Linked DNA regions of Homo sapiens: all the other regions are linked to region 3. Evidence: promoter capture Hi-C in human tissues and cell types (Jung and others, 2019). All regions are on one chromosome and are shown on one strand. The core of a region is centred on a gene start or on the middle of the fragment in contact, and the rest is flanking DNA. Distances in the headings are between cores, read along the strand shown. Region 1 overlaps FOXK2 (forkhead box K2). Region 2 overlaps TBCD (tubulin folding cofactor D). Region 3 holds the start of RAB40B (RAB40B, member RAS oncogene family).

Region 1 (4,003 bases), core at 494-2,993, 150 kb after region 3:
AAAGTACTTGAGGCCACGTCCGGTGGCTCACGCCTGTAATCCCAGCACTTTGGGAGGCCGAGGTGGGCGGATCACAAGCTCAGGAGTTCGAGACCATCCTGGCTAACATGGTGAAACCCCATCTCTACTAAAAATACAAAAATTACCCAGGCGTGGTGGTGGGCGCCTGTAGTCCCAAATACTCGGGAGACTGAGGCAGGAGAATGGCATGAACCTGGGAGGCGGAGACTGCAGTGAGCTGAGATCACGCCACTGCCCTCCAGCCTGGCAACAGAGCAAGACTCCATCTCGGGAAATAAAAAAAAAAGTACTTGAAAGCAGCCCCACAGCCCATCCACCATCTGCGTCACAGCAACGGGACAAACGTCCGTCTGGGACAATCTCCACCACAGGCGCAACTGCTGTGTCCCTGGAGCTTAGCCGATTCTAGTGGTGGTTCATGTCTTAAGGGCTCAGCACACATCCCAAGGTCTAGGGGCCTCTTCGCAGCCACGCCTGTGAATGTGGATCTCATGAACACAGACCCAGAGTCAGACCCCTCCAGAAACATCCAAAGTCCCCGAAAACCATGTTTGTGCTTCTGTGGAGTGACGGCATGGCTGGGAACCTGCATAACAAAAGCCCCTGCCATTCAAGCAGGTCATGTGTCCTTGACATGCAGAGGAGACAAGGCCAGGGCCAACACAGCTCAGGAGCAGCAGGTCTGGTCCCAGGCAGTCCCACTCTGAGAGGCAAGCACAGAAGAGCTGCCTTTGGCCTTGGCACCTGCCTGGGCTGTGGCCTCCAGGATGGCCCTGCTTCCCCCAGACTCCTGACGTCCTTTTCTGCCGTGACACAGATAACTCAGGCGACTCAGAAAAAATGCTCCATGGGTGAGCTCCTTTCTGCCTGTTTAAAAAACAAGTCTGGCTGGGCACGGTGGCTCACGCCTGTAATCCCAGCACTTTGGGAGGCCTTGGCAGGCAGATCACCTGAGCTCAGGAGTTCGAGATCAGCCTGGCCAACATAGTGAAACCCCATCTCTACTAAAAATACAAAAATCAGCCAGGTGTGGTGGCGCGTGACTGTAATCCCAGCTACTCCGGAGGCTGAGGCAGGAGAATCGCTTGAACTCAGGAGGCAGAGGTTGCAATGAGCCGAGATCATGTCACTGCACTGCAGCCTCGGCAACAGAGCAAGACTGTCTCCAAAAATAAAAAAGAAAGAAAATCTAACAAACTCTTTCCAGTCTGTGATTTTACGTAACGGGGTGACCTACAGAGCACCTCTCCGGTTTGGAGCCTTGCAGAGCACGCGGAGACGCTTGAGCAGAGTGGCTGCAGAGGTCACTCTGCACTCCAGAGCCCTGTTTGGGATGCTGCTCTTCAACCACCTCAGCCAAGTGCTCACAGCCAGCATCATTGTCCACGGCACAAAACGACACCAGGGTAACACGGCCATGGTGCCCTGAGAGGACACAACTTCACCTCTAGAGTTCCTGCCAAAGGTAACTAACCTAGATCTAATCAAGAGGAAACATCCAACAAATCCTAACTGAGGGACGTTCGACGAAATCACTAATGCTGTGCTCTTCAAAAATATCAATGTCACAGAAGACAAAGGCTGAGGATGGCCACACATAGAAGAGGATTAAAGCGACAGGAGGGTTCAGTGTGACACAGGGCCTATCAGTGAAGGGCAGGAGCGACGGTGGGTGAAGCCTGGAGAAGGTCGGCCATTAGGACACAGTTGCCATAGCAGTTCTCACCAGGGCAGGCACAGAAGAGGATGCCTGCAGGGAAAGCGTCACCTTTGCAACTGCCCCTCGAATGTTTAAGGAGAGGGAGAGAGACTGAACATGCGGGTTTGGTGAAACACTAACGGAGTGGGAATCTGGGAAAACGGAAGTTCTCTGTACTATTTTTGCAATTTTGCTTTAATTCTGAAGTAATTTCAAAAGAAAAAGAAAAACATTTGTAAGCCTTCAACATGTCCAATGCAAACCTCAACACTAGTCTAGGCCTGTGGCCAGGCTGGGAGCGTGTGCCTTGGTCCACCGCGAGGGGAGTGCGGACATGGAGAGTGTTTGGAAGCCACTTCATTTTTTGAATAATTTTATGGTGCCTCACACCCTGAGGACTCCACAAGGGGGAGCCCAGGGCCCAAGGCTGCCACCACCCAGAGTGCAGCAGGTGCTTCCCCACAGTCCAAGGACCTGCCCCAGAAAGGGGTGTGCAGGAGGTGGAGCACCGTGCCAGGCCCAGGAATGGGCTCCCCTGCCCCTCCTTGGAGGAGGTCTGAGTGGCAAGTGTCATCTTAAAGCACATAAATTACAAATAAACAGCTTGACAGAGCTGAAGACCGTTTAAGACAATGAGAAATACATTAGAAACCCTAAATAGCCCACACTTTGTCATCAGCAATAAACCTCAAGCAGCAACTATCACCTCAGCCTCAAATTTTTATGTTTTTTATTTTTATTTTTTAGATAGACTCGCTCTGTTGCCCAGGCTGGAATGCAGTGGCGTGATCTCAGCTCATTGCAACCTCCATCTCTCAAGTTCAAGTGAGTCTCCTGCCTCAGTTTCCCAAGTAGCTAAGACTACAAGCACATGTCCCCACACCTGGCTAATTTTTTGTAATTTTTTTTAGTACAGACAGGGTTTCACCATGATGGCCAGGCTGGTCTCAAACTCCTGACCTCAGGTGATCCACCCGCCTTGACCTCCCAAAGTGCTGGGATTGCAGGCATGAGCCACCGTGCCTGGCCAGCTTTAACTTCTTATCCTTCAAAACTCATGACATGCCATCATGTTTATTTTTATTTTTTTTTTAATTTTTTTTTTTGAGATGGAGTCTCGCTCTATCGCCCAGGCTGGAGTGCAGAGGTGCAATCTAAGCTCACTGCAAACTCCGCCTCCCAGGTTCACGCCATTCTCCTGCCTCAGCCTCCCGAGTAGCTAGGACTACAGGTGCCCGCCACCACGCCCGGCTAATTTTTTGGATTTTTAGTAGAGACGGGGTTTCACCGTGTTAGCCAGGATGGTCTCAGTCTCCTGAGCTTGTGATCCGCCCGCCTCGGCCTCCCAAAGTGCTGGGATGACAGGCGTGAGCCACCACTTCCGGCCTTTCAGCACAAATCTTCTAACCTAAGCCTCCGAAGCTTAAAACAGGCTTTGACACCTAACGACCCGGCTCAGTACTGGCTTGCAAGTGTCATCTTTCAGTGACGCACGCTTACTGCACGCAGTGCTTCACAGTGACTTAGAAACCACCTAGTTTTGACACAGAACTTTTCCATACAGACAAGGCCGGTTTCAGGCTTGTGTGGCCAGCACAGCTGCACAAAGCCCACCTCAGGGCCGGCGCCGTGGCCCACACCTGTCATCCCAGCACTTTGGGAGGCTGAGGCAGGCGGATCACAAGGTCAGAAGATCGAGACCATCCTGGCTAACATGGTGAAACCCTGTCTCTATTAAAAAATACAACAAAAATTAGCCGGGCGTGGTGGCGGGCGCCTGTAGTCCCAGCTACTCGGGAGGCTGAGGCAGGAGAATGGCGTGAACCCGGGAGGCGGAGCTTGTAGTGAGCCGAGATTGCGCCACTGCACTCCCGCCTGGGGGACAGAGCAAGACTCCATCTCAAAAAAAAAAAAAAAAAAGCCCGCCTCAGAAGGGCCAGGCATGGAGTTTAATGCCTTACTGCCAACATCTTGAAATCCCTAATCATTTATCTTTAAATTGGTGTTCTGTAGTGAAGTTCAATGGGACACAGCCCATCTTGCTCCTGCACCCCCTTCTTCCCCCACAACTGTCCAATGTCCCTGGTGGGGTGTGAACAGGGGTGCCTTGCTTCAGACACGTATTCCTGGGAAAGCTTGAAGTCAAGTGGCAAATTAAAAACACTATGGCAGGCCAGGAATCCACAGAAGACATAAAGAAGCTCTTTGTGTGTGTGTGTGTGTGTTTGTTTAGAGACAAGGTCTTGCAGTGTCGCCCAGGCTGGAAGGCAGTGGCACAATCAT
Region 2 (3,875 bases), core at 1,075-3,574, 190 kb before region 3:
AAAGCCCAGAGCCCGAACACTCTTCCTCAGGAGTGAGGCAGCTCATGGTCACCAACTGGCACCACGTGCCGCCCTCCAGGGAGGGCGCCCTGCCCGCACCCATGGCACGGTGTCAATAGGCTCTCCAGGCCGAGTCCCAGGGCCGGGCACAGGCCCAGAGCAAGGGCTGCTGAAAAGGTCAAAATGTGAACTTCAACAGGATGAAGTGCTTCCAGGAGGCCTCTCATGTCCTCCCCAAACACCCTGCCCCCCTTAGGCGCACCGACCAGGCAGAGCAGGTTACCTGGGCAAGGTGACAACCACACCTCCCTTCCCATGTGTCACCAGCTGGTGCCCCGTCCTTCCCAAAAGCACCCGGGCTCCGAGTTCTCAGGGCTGGAGACACAGGAGACTTCAGTGTCCCAGGAAGACCCAGCAAAGTGCACCCACGGCCACACCACACACACCACCAGCAAGGGGCGAGGCCAGGGAGGCTGGCGGCTTCAGGGACCACGCTCTGGAGGAGCGACCTCCCGCCTGGCAGGATTCCTGCCAACACTCGCCTGGGGGCTTCCTGAGAGCAAGGTTGAGCGATGGCTGCTGGGAGGAGCACACACAGACGGGCACCAAGTAAGGAGCCGAACACAGCCACCCAGGGTCTGTGCCCCCACCCCCCAGGGAAAAGGAGCAGACGCGCCCACCACCTCTGGCCAATCACACAGAAACCAGACGTGCGGGTGGCTCCAAGGCAGACCCCTGGGCTGGGCTGGAGATTGGAGGAAACAGGCGCTTCACAGCAGGCTGGGAGGAGGCCTGACTGCTGCTTTGCAAATTTGTAACTTTTGTGATAAATTCATTAGGAAAGTAAGAAACAAAACCCGCCAAAAGGCAATGCAACAAAGATATACTGTAACATCAATTTAACATACACTATTAGGAAGACATGTACCATTCCAGTGGTATCTAAAAGATGTTTTAAAAATTCAAGATTTATGTGGAAAAGCACAAGCCCTAAAACAGGGAAAACAGTCCTGAGAAAGAAGACGCTGGGAGGCATCTCCCTGCCCAGTGCGAAGGCTGACTATGCACAGCAGCATCGCAGCACAGCCCGTCACACAGTGTGCGCTGGCAGAACAGACACGCAGACCAACCAGCAGAACAGAAAACACGGGACAGCATCCCCGGGACCGGGCGAGGTGGAGTTCCCAGACCTTAAGAAAGTCTTCACGTCTTAAAAAGCACTAAAAACATGAGCCACAAAAACAAAAAACTGATCGAGACCCCAGCAAAATTAAAAAATTAAAAACTCTTGCCCTATGAAGAGGACGGAAAGATGAGCTACAGACTGGGAGAAAGCCAAACGCAAATCCAACAGAGGACCAGAATCCTACATATGTAAAGAGTGCCCTAAACTCAAGAACTACAAAAAACAATCCACTTAGAAATGAGTAAAAGACCTGAGCAGACATTTCACCAAAGAGGAGGTACAGACGGCAAGTAAGCCCGTGAAAGATGCTCCACACCATCAGGCATGACAGAAACGCAGGTAAAGACCACAACGACGTATCACCACATGCCTGTCAAAAAGGCCGACACAGAAAACAGTGGCCATGTCAGACACAAGCGAGGACAGAGAAAGGCAGGGCTGCGGGCAGGTGGTGGTGCGAACGTGAATGGTGCAGCTGCTCTAGAAAGCAGTTTAAATGTCCAACTACCACGACCCAGAAACTACTCCTGGCATTTAACCCAGAGAAATGGAAGTTACACTCACACGAAAACCTGAGCACGAATGTTTACAGCAGCTTAAAGACTAGAAACCATCCTGATGTCGTAATACATGAATGGTCACACAAACCACGGCACCACTCAGCAACAGAAGCAGCAAACCAGCACCACCCACCACGCTCGGGGTGGGTCTCCAGAGAGCTGTGCCGAGAGAAGAAAGCTACAGCATTAGAGGCCACAGAGTCCATTTACACAGCATTCTCGAGATGACAGAATAGAATAGGCAACGGAGAGCCGACCGGTGGCTGCCAAGGGTCAGGAGAGGGAAACAGCAGGGACTGTGGGCAAAGCAGTAGCACAGGCCTCTCGGGAAGACAGGGCTGCTGTGTATCCTGATTGTGGTGGTGGATACGTGAATTTGTATGTGATACAATCACACAGAAGTAAACGCGTGAGCGCACGTGCGCGCGCGCGCACACACACACACACACACACACACACACACACACACAGAGTACAGGTAAAACCAAGGAAGAAGGAATAAGACTGGTGGGTTGGCTCAATGTTCTAGGCTGTGATGTTCCATTGCGGTTTTGCCAGATTTCATCATGGAGGCAATGGTGAAACACGCATGGGCTCTCCCTGCATTAGTCTTTAAAACTCCATGTAAATCTCCGCCAGGCACAGTGGCTCACGTCTGTAATCCCAGCACTTTGGGAGCCGAGGCAGGCAGATCACTTCAGGTCAGGAGTTCGAGACCATCCTGGCCAACATGGTGAAACCCCGTCTCTACTAAAAATACAAAAAGTAGCCGGGCATGGTGGTGCACGCCTGTAATCCCAGCTACTCGGGAGGCTGAGGCAGGAGAACTGCTTGAACCCGGGAGGCCGAGGTTGCAATAAGCCAAGATCGCACCACTGCACTCCAGCCTGGGTGACAGAGTGGGAGGGGAGGGGAGGGGAGGGGAGGGGAGGGGAGGGGAGGGGAGGGGAGGGGAGGGGAGGGGAGAAAACTGCATATAAATCTCAATTATCCCAAAATAAAAAGTCACAAATAGAGGTCAGACACTATGTATCAAACGAAATGCTGGAAGAAAAAGATTTAAAATCTTCTCAGTTAAATGTAGGCTTTAAGTGCCTTTACTTTAACTGTGAGTGAACGGGGCCCCATCTCCCTTCCTCATGATGAACAAGAAGCCACGACCACACCCCATCTCTACTGCCCATTCCTTCCCCGCCGGGAGACATGTCTTCTTGCAATGTCAGCACGTTTGGGGGTCTGCTAGATTCCTTCCAATATGCAGAAAAACCAGCATTCAGCAACGAACACAGCTGGAACTGTTTTCACAAACTCACTCACACACTGACTGCCTGAGTCGCCATGCTCCTGCCAATGCTGAGAACCAGCTGCAGCACCTTCCTCACAGCGTTGCTGGGAGGGTCACAAACCATGGGATGGACGACCGCGGCCAGTCTTGACATGGGAGCACCAGGGCAATGCAGGGCGTCTAGAGTTCAGGGGCAAGGGACCGTGTCCAGCCCCAAGGAGGGACAGGACTTCAACGCCTTTTGCTGCTGCCTCCTGGCCGGTGCTGAAGAGGCCTCAGGGCCTCACAGGGGTGACCTCACCCAGTGACACAGCGTCAAACAGGAAGCCAAGCTGAGCCAGAAAGACCGAGACATTGTTATCTGAAAGCAGCAGCTCCAAAAAATGATTCCCAATTATGAGGCCCTCAATCCTCACATTTCCAACTAAGCTTCAAAAAGGTGTCTTTTACCTTTGGCTGTTTTAATTTTGCAAGCTACAGGGTAAGCTAGGTGCACTCGGTGGTATTTATCAGAAAAGATTTATTGCCAATTTAAAGGGATTTTAATGTGAAAAATGATTTATATTATTTCACTTCATATTCAGGGTTCATAGAAGCCTAAGTACTTTAATTTTATTACTGCTTCCCATGAAATGTCTTAGGTTGCAGTAAAGAAAATCTAAAAGCTTAATTTAAGTACAGATTTAACATAAAATTGTATTATATTTCAAAGTCTTACATTTACTGCCTTTGGGTAAATAGCAGGGCAAAAATGTGATGATTTCCCCAAAAAATTATGAGGTTTTTACTGATGCTGAAGACAAAATAAGAGCAGCTTCAGGGACAGAGAAGAGCTTCTGAGCTC
Region 3 (3,854 bases), core at 321-2,820:
AGCTACTTGGGAGGCTTGAATCCAGGAGGTGGAAGTTGCAGTGAGCCAAGATTACATCACTGCACTCCAGCCTGGGCAACAGAGCAAGACTCTGTCTCAAAAAAAAAAAAATGTGGCTGCATTAGTAACTAAAGCAACTAATCAACCAATGAATAACAGGTGTTGCAAACTAAATTGGCATTCCAAAGTAAACATTTTCTAGGTCCAAATGAATGCAAATGACAAATATAATAATCTTGACTTCAGTCTCTTTTGTAATTCTTCTTCCGCTCCCTCTTCTGTTCCTCCCCCACAAAAAACTTCTAATGGGGTCTAGAGCAGTTCCCTACACAACGCAGGGTGGAGGGGATGAAGTAGTGGGGGCATTATCCTTCTTCTTGGACGGAGCTCGCCCTTTGCCTGCTGCCTGAATTCTGCACCAAATAAACCAATGTGCACCTGGTGAGACCCTCAGAGCGAAGGGCAGACCTCGGCCTGGCAACCCTTGCTCTCTAGAGCAGAGGAGAAGCCAAAAGGCTGGAGGGTCCCACCCAATGCTCTCCTCCAGCACGCACGCAAACACATGCATGGATGCACAAACAAGCGCACGCACACATAGGAGCGCATGCATAGAAGCAGCACACGCAGACACACACATGCAAAGATGCCTGCAAAGGCACACATGCACACGCACATACATGTGCAGACACCTGCAGAGGCACACATGCACACGCAGACACACAGATGTGCAGACATCTGCAGAGGGACACATGCACACGCACATACATGTGCAGACACCTGCAGAGGGACACATGCACACGCAGACACATAGATGTGCAGACACCTGCAGAGGGACACATGCACACGCAGACACATACATGTGCAGATATCTGCAGAGGCACACATGCACACGCAGACATGCACACACACGAACACATGCACACGTACACAGGCGCATGTGCACACACAGGCATTCAGGCACGCCGCGTAAATGGGGCAACGACGAGGCCCTGGATGAACCGTGGGGAGAGACCGCGAGCCTGGATTCTACGGCGACAGGGACTCCTCCGGCGAGGCGGCCTGCGGGGGCCTTCCGGCCGCGTCCGCCAACTGGACCGACCCCGAGCCCCACCCGGCCAGGCACCCGAGGTCTCCCTGGTGGGCAGGTGGGGAGGCCCCACGCTGGGACCCTGCACCGCCCCTCGCCCCTCCCGACTCGGGGCGTGCAGACCCGACGACCGTGGGAGCGAGTTCGTGGCGCTCACGGGCGCACGCGAGAGTGTAAACACCCGGCCCCACCCCCTGATCGCCCCCACCCCGCCCCGCCATTGGCTGCGGGAGCAGAGTCCCCGCCTCCTGCTTGTTCTGGCTCCGCCCCTGCCCCGTCTCCGGGCCTCCATTGGCTGTGGTGACAGCGACCTTTCAGGAGGGGCGGGTGGGCGACAGCCCGGAGGCGGTGACGAGAGTAAGATGGACGGACAACCAAGCCAGTGAAAGCGCGCAGCTGCCCTAGCAACTGCGGTCCACCAATGGCGGGGCCGGGCGGGGATGCGCGCTGTCAGCGCTGGGCGGCGGGGCGGGGCCGGAGGCGAGCAAGGACTCGGGGCCCGCGCGGCGCCTCTCGGGGCCGGGCCGCCGCCTCTGCGCTCAGCCCCGCAGGCCGGGCATGGGTGGGGGCGCCGGGCCGTCACGATGAGCGCCCTGGGCAGCCCGGTCCGGGCCTACGACTTTCTGCTCAAGTTCCTGCTGGTGGGCGACAGCGACGTGGGCAAGGGCGAGATCCTGGCGAGCCTGCAGGATGGCGCGGCCGAGTCCCCGTACGGCCACCCGGCGGGTGAGCGCGGGCGGAGGGCGTGCCGGGGTGCGGGCGCGGGGCCGGGGAGGGGCGCGGGGCTGGGGAGGGGGTGCGGGTGGGGGTCCGGGTCCGGGGACGCGAGACCGGGCAGGGGTCGGGAAGAGGCCGGGGCGCGTGGCCGGGGAGGGTAGGAGTCCCGGTCCGGGGGCGCGGGGCTGAGGAGGAGCGCGGTTCGCGGGCGGGCCTTTCTCCGCCCGGCCCTGGCCCTCGTGCTGCGGCGTCCCTGTTGCACCCCCAGTTCCACTCGAGGCCCCGCGGCGCAGTCTCCATCCTTCTCCGCAGTCTGCGCGCAGCGGGAGCCCGCGGCTGGGCCGGGCGCTGGGCTCCTCCCGACCTGGGGCCGCTGCTGTGGGGACCCGGGGCGGGGGCTCGAGTCCGCAAGTGCGCGTTCGGCCGCGGGGCAGGAGGGGCGGGAGGGGACGCGAGCTCCGGGGCTCCTGGGGCGGAGCGCGGCGAGCAGGCGCCCAGGTGCTGGGTCTGCGCGTGGGTCGGAGGGGAGGGGAGACCAGGGTCCGGTCCCGAGGCCAGGGGTCCCGCGTGTCCGGGGGAGAGGAAGGAGCACAGGTGACTCGCGTGCGGAAGAGGGGACCCCCCACGACAGCGGCCGGAGAGCGGGTTCCAGGGCGAGGGGAGGCCGGAGCGCCCAGAGCTCCCAGGCAGGCAGCCCGGGGATCCCCCAAGTTTGAGGCTTGAAAGCCGGCGCCCGGCGAGGGGGTGGACGGCTCCGGGGAAAGAAAGGCGGGGGCAGGAACCCAGGAGAAGGGGGAACGCGCAGAGGCGAACACCTCGGCTGGGAGTGAGGAGCAGGCGGGGCCTTCACCCACGCGCATCCCTGGAACAGCTTGGACGAGGCCGACCCTGAGGCTGTGGAAGGAGCCCAGCCTGTGCCCACCTTCCTGCCGCGCCTCGGGGCTGAACCCACGCTTCCAACAGAGACCCGCTCTGAGTCCTGGGCGGAGGAGGGCAGCCGGGCGTGGAGATGGAGTCTTGGTGGGAAGGACCTGTCAGCTCTGGGGCCTGGGAAGGGTCTGGGAAGCCCCAGGTCCAGGGTCCTGCCAGAGACGAACTTAGCGGGAGAGGGTGGGAGGAAGCGGGATCTGAGGCTGCTCGGTAGAGGGTGCAGGCTGTCCCCTAAGGGCAGCTCCAGGCAGGCGGCGTGAGCACCAAGGGAGTGTGGCACGGCTGGAGGGGGTGGCCTGAGACTGTGGAGCGTGGGGTGGGACTCAGGTGCCCGGCCACACCTCAGCTTAGGGGACGGGGTGAGGAATGGGCAGAGTTTGGGGGAGCAGCTGAGATGGGCTTGGGCTCACGACCAGCACCCAGAGGCCTCCTGAAACTGCAGCATGCGGGGGAGTCTCTGGCAGCTGGTGGGTGCAGAGTGTGCTCCGTGGGGCAGGAGGGGAGCCTGCGTCTCTACCTGTCCCCAGGCGCCGCTGCCCCCGCATGTCCTACCCCCCTCCCCGCTCGGTGGCAGGTCTCTAGGACCGTGGTGTCCAGTAGGATGCCATGAGCCACGTGTGGCTGTGGAAGTGTAATTAGAAGGAAAGAAAACAAAAAGCTTCCATTCGTCACATTTCTAGATAGTTCGGATGTCGCTGTGGCAAAGTCCGAGGGCCAGCGCTGCCCTGGAGATTGAGCGCCTGGAGGACAGGGCTGGAGATTGAGCGCCTGGAGGACAGGGCTGGAGATTGAGCGCCTGGAGGACAGGGCTGGAGATTGAGCGCCTGGAGGACAGGGCTGGAGATTGAGCGCCTGGAGGACAGGGCTGGAGATTGAGCGCCTGGAGGACAGGGCTGGAGATTGAGCGCCTGGAGGACAGGGCTGGAGATTGAGCGCCTGGAGGACAGGGCTGGAGATTGAGCGCCTGGAGGACAGGGCTTTGTCTGCACTGTGCCCTCGGGGTCTGGGCTCAGTGAGGGATGAACCCTACCAGAGCTACAGGAATAAAGCACCCAACAACGTGTACGCCCAGACGAATATGGCGCTTTAAGAGCTGTGCGTGTTTTGGGGGAGCAGACGG

The links. Contacts are between HindIII fragments. The study calls those that stand out against the background at their distance.
Region 1: a fragment that was not itself captured here is called in contact with the fragment with the promoter of RAB40B in region 3 in 1 of the 25 tissues and cell types used here (dorsolateral prefrontal cortex).
Region 2: a fragment that was not itself captured here is called in contact with the fragment with the promoter of RAB40B in region 3 in 2 of the 25 tissues and cell types used here (small bowel and thymus).

The regions. Positions count from the first base shown.
Region 1 is chr17:82,550,140-82,554,142 of GRCh38, reverse strand. The region is part of intron 1 of FOXK2 (forkhead box K2); the gene reads right to left. Among named protein-coding and RNA genes, the nearest start is that of FOXK2, 32 kb to the right of the region's middle. RefSeq lists silencers at 627-798, 1,976-2,270 and an enhancer at 1,265-1,889. The HindIII fragment of the contact is 6,006 bases long and covers 1-4,003 here.
Region 2 is chr17:82,885,473-82,889,347 of GRCh38, reverse strand. All of the region lies in intron 15 of TBCD (tubulin folding cofactor D), which reads right to left. Among named protein-coding and RNA genes, the nearest start is that of ZNF750, 47 kb to the right of the region's middle. RefSeq lists an enhancer at 3,469-3,875. The HindIII fragment of the contact is 6,882 bases long and covers 1-3,875 here.
Region 3 is chr17:82,696,414-82,700,267 of GRCh38, reverse strand. It overlaps RAB40B (RAB40B, member RAS oncogene family), which reads left to right and starts at 1,570. Exons shown (of 6, transcript NM_006822.3): 1 at 1,570-1,813. The coding sequence starts at 1,672. RefSeq lists silencers at 1,002-1,391, 1,412-1,841. The HindIII fragment of the contact is 28,650 bases long and covers 1-3,854 here.